Regions from separate parts of the Homo sapiens genome. Here regions 2 and 3 are each linked to region 1. The links are contacts of gene promoters, found by promoter capture Hi-C in human tissues and cell types (Jung and others, 2019). All regions are on one chromosome and are shown on one strand. Each heading gives the region's core, a stretch centred on a gene start or on the middle of the fragment in contact. The rest is flanking DNA. Distances are from core to core; before and after follow the strand shown. Region 1 holds the start of IGFBPL1 (insulin like growth factor binding protein like 1). Region 2 has its middle 15 kb from the start of FAM240B. Region 3 overlaps FAM240B (family with sequence similarity 240 member B).

What was found. The method cuts DNA at HindIII sites, captures the fragments that hold promoters and counts their contacts. A contact is called where the count stands out against the background at its distance.
Region 2: a contact is called between a fragment that was not itself captured here and the fragment with the promoter of IGFBPL1 in region 1, in 1 of the 25 tissues and cell types used here (dorsolateral prefrontal cortex).
Region 3: a contact is called between a fragment that was not itself captured here and the fragment with the promoter of IGFBPL1 in region 1, in 1 of the 25 tissues and cell types used here (mesendoderm cells).

The regions. Positions count from the first base shown.
Region 1 is chr9:38,422,631-38,426,095 of GRCh38, forward strand. It overlaps IGFBPL1 (insulin like growth factor binding protein like 1), which reads right to left and starts at 1,824. Exons shown (of 5, transcript NM_001007563.3): 1 at 1,335-1,824. The coding sequence starts at 1,794. It overlaps LOC105376041 (a long non-coding RNA gene), which reads left to right and starts at 1,981. Exons shown (of 8, transcript XR_007061487.1): 1 at 1,981-2,120. RefSeq lists an enhancer at 2,869-3,465. The HindIII fragment of the contact is 5,843 bases long and covers 1-3,465 here.
Region 2 is chr9:38,732,949-38,736,413 of GRCh38, forward strand. No RefSeq gene overlaps it. Among named protein-coding and RNA genes, the nearest start is that of FAM240B, 15 kb to the left of the region's middle. RefSeq lists an enhancer at 67-567. The HindIII fragment of the contact is 3,561 bases long and covers 1-3,290 here.
Region 3 is chr9:38,713,365-38,716,829 of GRCh38, forward strand. All of the region lies in intron 1 of FAM240B (family with sequence similarity 240 member B), which reads right to left. Among named protein-coding and RNA genes, the nearest start is that of FAM240B, 5.0 kb to the right of the region's middle. The HindIII fragment of the contact is 5,800 bases long and covers 1-3,465 here.

The DNA.
Region 1 (3,465 bases), core at 574-3,073:
CAGGGAGCCAGCGGCAGCACAGATGCACCCCCAGCCAGCTCTGTCCTCCATGGGGAGCTTCAGCTAGGAACAGCCAATGGTGACTTTCCTGTGCTCAACTGGCCACACACTGGTTTTACATTTCCCAGGACTGGAGGCTTCCTGCCCCATCTCCAACAACCCATTGCGTCTCCTGGACTTGGGTACATCTACCTGAACTACTTGAGAGGAAAGACTACTAGATACTTCTTAAGGCTTGGAAAGGTCTCACCCCACCCCAGGCTTCTTTCTTGAAGCTAAGTCATTACACTGACTTAGGCACTAAAGTCTGGACTTGGTCTCTGGGCTCAGGCCAGAATTATTTCCCAGAAGCCTGAACTCCAGGCCGAAACCCAGGCTCCTTGGGACTCACTGGCCACCTTCTCACTCACCCTAAACTCAGCACTGCCCACTCCAGGCAAAGTACACAGCGGCACTTCAAAACCTAGTGGGTGGAATACACTCATGCTTAGGAAGCCGGTAAAGCAGTGCTAACGTTTTGGTTTCTTTTTGTTTGGTTTTCAAAAGGTACATAAAGAGGGTGGGCAACTATAGCACTCAGAGATTATTTTACTGTGATGTTAATGAAGCTTAAGTTTCTAAGTCCCTAGCATTTCATAATAAGTTTCTAAGTCCCTAGCAGTTCTATTCCTTTACTTAAGGCAGGACTCTCCAAATTATATATGTTTTAGAAGCACGAAACCTGAGTCTGCCCCTAATAGCACCACAATCTTTTCAGACCTTACGTCTCCAAAGGTCTTACTTCTCCTGGATGGAGCTCCCTCAGCATCCCAGCTCAGCCCCTTCCCACACCGGGGGCCCTGGTGCTCTGGTGCTGTGGCCTGGTGACTACTGATTCCCCAGTCTGGAACTCATCCTCCTCCTGCATCCTCAACTTCCCTTCCTCCCCTATCCTCTACTTCCCTTCCTCCCCCAACCTCAACTTCCCTTCCTCCCCATTCAAACAATCCACCTAGCGCTGGATACCTGGGAACTCGGATCCCCCTCCTTAACTCCCAGTCTCCTGCTGGGCAAACATACCATGCCTACAAATAAGTGACTGCATCAGCAGGTACTTAAGTACCAAAAGGGGTAGCAGGCTCACCAAAAATTCGACTAGCACAGTGAGTGGCGTCTCCAAGGATTCTCGCCCCAGTCTCTCTGAGCACGAGGAGAGATATGAAATACTGCTCCCTAAGGGGAAACTGAGTGCCAGGCAGCGCCGTCCACCACTGGGCAGGGGGATCCTTCGCTCCACACCCCAGAGGGTTGGAATCCCTCCTTCTCTACCCACCCAATCCCCGACCCTGACTCACCGAACTCGCAAGGGCCGTCGCGCGCCTTGTGCAGGTGACCGGGGTGCGCGCGGGGCGTGTGCCGAGCGCGCAGGCGCAGCGCGCAGACGCTGGGGTACGAGCGACCGTCGGAGCCGCAGACGGTGCCGCGCTGCGCGCACACGCAGAGCCCGGTGCCCTCGGGCGCTGCCCCAGCGGCCTGGCTCGCGCATACCAGGCCGGGGCCACAGCGCCCGCCGGCGCGGCCCCCGCAGCTCGCGCCCTCGGCTCCCAGGCAGCGGGCGCAGCAGCCGCACTCGTCGAGCGCCGAGATCCCGGGCGCCGGGCAGGGCGCAGGCGCCGGGCAGCCCTCTGGCCGGCACGGACCACACTTGGGGCGCCGGCCGCCCACGTCGCGGATCCCAAGGCTCGGGGACAGCGGCGGCAGCAGCGGCAGCAGCAGCAGAAGCAGCAGCGGCAAGAGCAGAGACAAGCGCGGCATGGCTTGCTCCGGGACAGCGGCGGCGCCTCTGCTTCGCGCTCCGCTCCGCGCCCGCCGAGCAGTCACCGCTCCCGCCCCGCGGCCGCTGATTGGCCGGGCCTGCACCGCGGGGCGCCCGCAGACCGCTGCTCCAGCCCGGGACCCGCGCGGTGCCCGCGGCCCGGGTCTCCGAGCTGGAGGGTCGCCCCGAGAGCAGCTCTCCGACCTCCGATTGGACTCTTGAGGGAACCGAGACCCAGTCGGGGCGACAACTTGCCCGAGGTCGCTATGGCAGAGTCAGGATTGGATAACCGTACGGTCTCCGGATCCAAGGCTGGCTCCAGATAGTATGCCCGTAAATCCTCCCAGAAGGATGCGCTATTTTATTTAATTTTATTTTGCATTCAGTAGTTTTCAAAGTTTTATTTTATAAAGAGAATATATGGTTTAAAATGTAGATTTTACATATACATCTAAGGATGAAAAGAGGGTTACCCTACCACCTTGTATCCCCATCCTCCAACTCGGCTTCCAGAGGCCACTCTTGCTATCGGGTTTTTGTATATCTTTTCAGAAATTTTCTCTATGCCTATAAAAGTACATGTGCCTAAAAAAGCCCCTTCCTTTAAAACACACACACTCTGTTTCTCTCTCACACACACAGAGTAGCGTGCCATACACATTAGTCTGCACTTGGTTTTTGCACTTACAGTGTTTCACAGTTTCCCCACCTCTTGTCATCTGTGAAACTGGGTTTCTTATACAATCAATGGGAGCATAGTTCATTGGCTCTGTGAGTGTGTTTCTTAATGCTGCATAAAGTCATGGTACATCTCCGTCCACAGTGACTTTGTTGTGATGAGATATGGTGATATATTTTGGAGTTCATACAGAGTGGCCTTTCCACAGGGTTTAGTTGCAGTTATTTAACCACTTATTTTCCATCCTTTGGTTAATACGAATAATGCTTTGATGAAGTCTTGGTGCACAAGGGTCAGTGTACCTGTGGCTTACTGGGGAATGCATGTTGGAAAGATGCAGTTTCTTGTAGTCAGTTATTCATGCCGCCGTTGCGCCTTCTCTGGGCCAGGCTCTGTGCACACCATCCTGCCTGAGTTCTGGCAGGGCACCCAGACGAGAAACCTAAGAGAGTCTTGGCTGCTGGGATTTGATGTGTTGCTGGGTAAATGCACTGGATGGAGGGAGGGACTCGCTGAGCAGGTTTTATAGGAGACTTTTCCTGCCTTTACTGGCCACCCCTCATGTGTCTTGTGCTCTATTGTTTTTTCTTTGCTGAACTCCTGGAGATGGAGAAAGCCTCTTGCAGCCTGGGAAGACCAGCTACACCGTTCTTGGGTGGGGTTCATTTTGCTTTTCAAGCCCAGTTCCTTCCCAGTTTGCAGTCTTCTTATCCCCAGAAAGGAGCCTCTTCTGAGGCCACTTTATGTGGTGGTCAGAGGAGGGCCATCTGCCTGGTCCACGCCAGGCCTTACCTTACAATCAGCCACACAGAGCAGGGGCGGTTAGGCACCATGAAGGGGTGGTGGTAAGGAATAAATATAACAATGTTGGTAATGCACTCAGCGCAGCTCTCAGAACCTATCAACAGTGACTTTCAACCTGGAGGCTGCTGTCTTTACCAGGAGTGGCCTTTTAAAGTGCTCTCACCGCTTGACCCCTCTGTGCTCTTCC
Region 2 (3,465 bases), core at 260-2,759, 310 kb after region 1:
AGTCTTTTATCCCTTAACCCCCTCCGACTCCTCCCCTCGAGTCCCCAGAGTCCATTGTATCATTCTTGGGCCTTTGAGAAGCGCGATAGTGCTTGATATGCACTTGAAACTGCTTGTGAAAGATTGTGCTGATTTATACCCTCTGCACCCAGCCAGCGGAGCAGAGGCAGATTGCTTAGAGAGTGGTCCCGGCCGCCCTGGGGTCTGGAGCAGCTGTTAGCAGGGTTGCTGATTTCAGGTCTTTTGGGGCCCATCAATCCCAGTCCTGGATCTTGCTGAGGGCTGGAAGCCTTGGGGTTTGTTCACACATTTCTTAGTGCAAAAGCGCGATCTCTCCTATGCCTGAACTCGGGCTGCTGCTTGCTGTGGGGGAATAACGGGCTACAGAGAATGCCTTCTCCGCTGTGCGGAGCTTTGTTGTGCTCCGACTTTGCTGTATTTGAGGGCAGTACAGCCTCAGGAGCTAGTGAATCACAGGTTCAGCAGGCTGCAACCCCATGGACCACCCCAGTAGGAGAAGCTTTGGGTAATGTCTATAGGAGCAGGGGACGGAGTATTTTGCAACATGCTCTATTTAAAGGTCCCGCCTTCTCTCCCAAGGGCCAGCACTGCTGGTCCTACCCAAGATGAAAGGGCGGTGGGCAGGAGTGGTCCTGCTGACCAGCCGCCTGGCAGAAAGGCCTCATCTCAGCCAGGGGGGGCCACCTGTTGGTTCTCAGCTCTTACCAAAGCCGGAATAGGGAAGTCCCAACCTTGCTTCTGATGCTGTGAATCTGTACTCCTCTCTGGCTGGCTTACTCAGCACTGTGAGGGGTCTGCCTTCTCCAGGGCTGCCTCACAAAGGGGAGGAATTAATGAACTTCTATCACGGGTGTATTGGCCAAGGCTGATCCTCGTGTTTTGAATCCTCATGAATTCTACGCTGGCTCTTCACATTTGGGGTTTGTGCCTGAAGTGTGACACATTTCCCCTAGCTTCACGGAAGACAGTACCAAATGATCCTCTGCGGTCATCCTGCCCTGGAGTACGCTGGACCACAGAAGCTGGATGTGTAGCCCGAGCTTCTCTCTCACTACAGCCCTGTCGGAAAACTCTACCCCCCAAACCAGAGGGAAACTTGTGCGCCTCCCTGACCAGCACCTTCTCTCTGGTTTACAGACGGGAAACGGGAAGTAACGTGGGTATGGAGGCAACAGCCGCTGTCTGTGGAGGCTTGGCCCTGCTTAGGAGGGGTGCGTGAGCTCCTGGTCCTCTGACTTCACAGTGAGTGACACACAAGCGCCTCACTCAGGTGTAGAATTTACACCAGCATCCTCAGGTTAGGGAGTGTCAGTAATAATCATGATGGTAATGACTTCAAAAATAAAATGAATGCATTCACTAGTGAAGGCTCCACATGGGTAAGGACTTTGTTTTATTGACTACTTAGCAGGTGCTCTGTATATGTTGGTTGAATGGGCAAATAATAAAATAATGGCCATGGCATGAGTTTGTCAGATAATGATAGACAATCCCAGGGAGTTCCTTGGAGCACAGGTGCTATGCAGCCAGCCTGGAAATGGTGCAGGGAACTACACACACCTCTAGAGTCACCATCCCTGTGGCTTCAGCCTCCATGCACACAGACCCCACAGCTCCTGAGGACACAGACATTAGTTCTGGGACCAACACATCTCTGTGTCCTACTCCAGAAAGGCTCACGACCTCCCTCTCTCATCTCCCGGACATACGTTGCTCATGGTCCTGGCTGGTGATGTGGGCTGGGCAGACTAGAAACTGCCCAAGGACACAGGGCCCGCTCCTGCTGGCATCTTCGAGGACCCAGTCAGTGATGCTGTGACCAAGAATAGCCGTGCCCAGCTCCTGGCTGCCTCCTGGCCATCATCTCTAAATTGCCACGAGATCTTAGAGGCTACAATCTTATGGTCTTGGAGCCTGATAGTGTTAATAGTGATGCTCAGTTAAATCTCATTTGTTTATTTAGAGCTTAAAAGATAAACTACCAGGGAAACTGGCTGGTCACAATGTAAGCCTTAATAAACCCTGTAGGAAGAATTTTAAAGCTTATAGTCAGAGACCTCCCTTCCTCCCTCCCTTCCTCCTTCCTTCCTTCCTCTCCCTCCCTTCCTTCTTTTCTTCCTTCTGTGTGATTTCAACTCCAAAAATCATGGTTTAACAAAATGTTTAATGCAAGTGTTTTTTTGTTTTATTTTTTTGAGACAGAGTCTCGCTCTGTCAGGCTGTAGTGCAGTGGCGCGATCTCGGCTCACTGCAGCCTCTGCCTCCTCCCGGGTTCCAGCGATTCTCCTGCCTCAGCCTCCCAAGTAGCTGGGCCTACAGGCACCCACCACCACGCCCAGCTAATTTTTTATATTTTTAGTAGAGAGGGGGTTTCACCATGTTGGCCAAGATGGTCTCAATCTTTTGATATTGTGATCTGCCCTCCTCAGCCTCCCAAAGTGCTGGGATTACAGGCGTGAGCAACCGTGCCCAGCCTAATGCAAATGTTTTAAAGGGCTAGTTTCATTGGAAAAATAGCATTGCCAGGGGCTGTGACATGTAACAGATGCCAAGAAAGTATCTCTTATTTGAAAGTGTATTACAACCAAACAGGAATCTGCTATTATGATTGTTTTGCCTGTTTTTGTTTTGTTTTGTTTTTTGTTTTCCTGATATGGAGTCTTGCTCTGTCACCCAGGCTGGAGTGCAGTGGCGCGATCTCAGCTCACTGCACGCCCTACCTCCCGGGTTCACGCCATTCTCCGGCCTCAGCCTCCCGAGTAGCTGGGACTACAGGCGCCCGCCACGACGCCCGGCTAATTTTTGTATTTTTAGTAGAGACGGGGTTTCACCTTGTTAGTCAGGATGGTATCGATCTCCTGACCTCGTGATCCACCCGCCTCAGCCTCCCAAAGTGCTGGGATTACAGGCGGGAGCCACTGCGCCCGGCCGTTTTGCCTGTTTTTTAAGAAAATTACAATTTAATCACAATATTAGCCTGGCCCACAGGAAAAAAAACCCATTTGGGAACAAATGTTTCTCCCATGAAATAAAAACTCCTCTTTTTCCCCTAAATGCCTCTAGGCAATATTCTCTTCTTTATAGTTTATATCCGTTTGAAAATAATGACATAATATTGTCTGTTCAGTTTCTCATTTTTATTTTTAAACCCATAAACCTTTCAGATCCTGAGCTTGGATGAGACTGACTGTCTTTCATGGAACAGCTTCCCCAGGCTGCACTGGGACCCTTCCTATACGAGGGACAGTGTCCAGCCCCCAGGCCTTGGAAGGGGGTGACTTTCCAGCCCCAGCTCCCATCCATATCAATGACCATATCTGAGGCCCAGATGGGGGATTTCTGCTGGAGCTTTTGGGCCATAGTATTGCTGATTTTTCCTTCAGCATCTTTGCATTTCTTTTCTTGCTGGCTTTAAAAAAATTATTGAGCCTGAAAATGACTGAG
Region 3 (3,465 bases), core at 534-3,033, 290 kb after region 1:
CTATTCGGGAGGCTGAGGCAGGAGAATGGCGTGAACCTGGGAGGGAGAGCTTGCAGTGAGCCGAGATCACGCCACTGCACTCCAGCCTGGGCTACAGAGTGAGACTCCGTTTCAAACAAAAAAAAAAAAAAAAAAAAAAAAGAACTAGATTTCATCATCTGTTCAAGAACTAGATTTCAAAATGCTGTAAAGGTCAGTATTGAATCAATGGACAAAACTGGAACACGGACAATTACAGGATTGCATCAGTGTTATGGAGTTCCCAAAGTTGATGAGTGTGCTGTAATTATGTAAGAAGATGACTGTGTTCTTGGGAGGTAGCCACTGAAGCATTTAGAGGGGAAAGATTATGATGCGTCAACTTCTCTCATGTGATTTAGAAAAGATATAGATTGACAAGGCAAATGATAAGCAAGGTAAATGGTGATGATAGGTGCATCTGGCTGATGCTATAGAGGAATTCTTTGAATTATTTTTTCTGTAATTTTGAAATTACTGCCAAATGAATGTTAAAAAGTAAGCACTACTTTTATCTCCTTTCAAGAGAAAAATTGCTATTTACTTTGTTTCTCTTCCATTTATTGCCCTCCCCCTCACAACTTCTTATGCAGAGCCCCAATCTCTGTAAATAAACCCTGAACACATTTTGTAGTGTCACAAAGTAACAGAGGCTTAAAAAAATAGGTGAAGGGCATTGCAGAATTAGTCAACTGGAGAGTTCTCAATATCCAAAGAGGGAACAATATGCACAACAAAATAAACAACATGATGTTAGTTACAACCCAAAGAATGAATTCAAATTGATAGAAATTATTGAAATAAACAAATGGAGGAGAAAAAACAACTATTACTTTCAGAAGAATTCCAGTGAATAAGTGTAGAAAGAATGAGGAAAAGAGAAAATCACCATGAGAACACCACAGTAATAATTATTGCAGGCAGAATCCATTGATCAGTGGTAAAAATGAGTGGATGACATTTTAAGGAGGAACACAATGCTTGCATGACATCAAAGATATGTCTCTAAAAATTTAATAATTACTGTGGTGGTTTTAACATACGATCACAAATTGTCTGATACTCCCCTCTCTCTAGAAGGTGGAGTTAAGTCCCCCTCCCCTTCAGTCTGGGATGACTTGGTGACCGAGGGGAAAGTAGTCACTTTACAGTGGAGAAACAAATACCCCCTTAAATAAGTGTGGTTAAGGCTCTCAGCGCTACTAATAAGTATTGTGGATATCATGTGTCCCTTGATGTGACATGATGTGACACGCTGACTCTATGATGCACTTCTCCCAACACCAGAATGCTGTCTATTCATGAGAAAACTGAAGACTAGCTCAAATTCTGGAATATTTTACAAAATATGTGAACACTGTTCATTTAGAAGTGTCAAGGTCATGAAAGATAAAGACTGAGAAACGGTCACAGATTGGAGGAGAATAAGGAGATATGATTGATAGATATATACACCAATAAATGCAACGTGGCATCCTGGATTGAATCCTGGAACAGGAAAAACAGACAATAAGTAGTGGAAGACTGAATCTGATAAATTCTGCAGTAAATTTTATTGTACCAATGCTAATTTTATTGTTTTGATAAATGTACCATGGCTACGTAAGATGTTAATATTAGAGAAAGCTAGGTGACAGGTATATGGGAACACTCTGTACTATCTTTGTAACTTTCTCTAAATCTAGAATTATTTTGAAATAAAAAGTAAAAAGCACATGCATCTTCCTGACACCATCAGCAGACAGGAATTAAGGAGCATTGTTTGCCTGAGGAACATTTTCAGTGCACAAAGAGATATTCCGTCCTGGAGCCAGCAGCGTCCTGCTGTTTAGCCCTGTGTCATGTGTCCAGGACTAGGAGTTAGGAGACCCCCCCACACTCTTTACAGGGCAAGTTACTTGAACTAAGTTTCTGTTTTCTCATCTGTAAAATGGAACAACATGTACTTTCCCAATTAACCAGTTTTCAGTGGAAAAGGCTGCTGTGAAAAATGTTTTGCCTGACACAATAAGTGCTTAATAAAATCCTGGACTGCCTAATTTATATCCTTATGTAGATTACTGATAGGTCAGAGGCCACAAGCTCGGAAGCCTGTGGAGTCCTGGTGTGTTTAGAAGGCTCTGTGGCAAATTCTTGAATGCATGGCTTGTTTCAAACAGACACTGCCACTCAACTCCAAGCAACTATTGCCCATGGGGCATGGTCCCAGAGTTACCTGATATTCAAGTTTTTCAAAAGAAGCTGGAAATCTGATTTTTAAAACATTATGTAATTTCTTTATTTTTAAATGTTGATGATAATTTACAGACATTTCAAAGCTCTGTGCAGAGCATCAGAATATGTCTGTTGGCTGGACTTGGCCTTTGGGTCACTAGTTTTTGAGGTCCATATGGATTAATAGAGAAAACTTCTGAGTTCCCCATGGACCATGTAGCTAACTATGCCTTAGCTTCCTGGAGAAACATACACTGGGTGCACATAGAGTCGAAATAAAACAAAGTGAAAGCAATTAGAGAAAGCACCACCCCTCCCCGGTTACTGTTAACCACTGCAGTTTTATTGGTCACAACCAGGCTGTTCAATTTGATGTCTAGTCACTTAATTGTGACTAGAAGGGAACTGGGAGGTCCTTAAGCTCATTCTGCCATGCACAGAGATGCTCCTGGGTTTGCCTCTATGCCTGTTTGGATTGGGACCAGGAGCCGAGGCAGGTCTCTTTTCTCTTGGGCTTTGACCCCATAATCTTGTCCCTTCAACTAGACCCTTAACTACTGTGGGGCAAGGACCTTACTTAATATGGTGCCCTTGGCCCGGTGCGGTGGCTCAAGCCAGTAATCTCAGCACTTTGGGAGGCTGAAGCAGGTGGATCACCTGAGATCAGGAGTTCGAGACCAGCCTGGCCAACACAGTGAAATCCCATCTCTACTAAAAATACAAAAATTAGCCAGGCATGGTGCCCCATGCCTGTAATCCCAGCTACTCGGGAGGCTGAGGCAGGAGAATCGCTTGAACTGGGGAGGCGGAGCTTGCAGTGGGCTGAAATCGTGCCACAGCACTCTAGCTTGGGTGGCAGAGTGAGACTCCGCTCTTAAATAAAATAATTTTTTTAAAAAATGGTCCCCTTCACACAGTGTGCTCAGTGGACAAAGAACCTGTCATCCCCTCATGCCACTTGCCAGTCAAAATTCTCCAAAGAATTTAGAGCTAAAAGCAATTACTTCTCTAGAAAATGTTATATTCTGCTCCTATTAAAAGCTTTTAAAAAGGCAAGGTGGCTAAAATACAAAAATTGGCTAACATATTGTTTCTCCCCTCTGCTTCACCAAACTGCCAGTCCAGTGGCTATTTGGCCTTCACTAATGAATGTTACTTTTTTCCTGAACCGGAAACGGGCTATGTATATTTCTTAAGAGTGCGCTCTAGCCAGGAACTGACTTCCCAAAATAG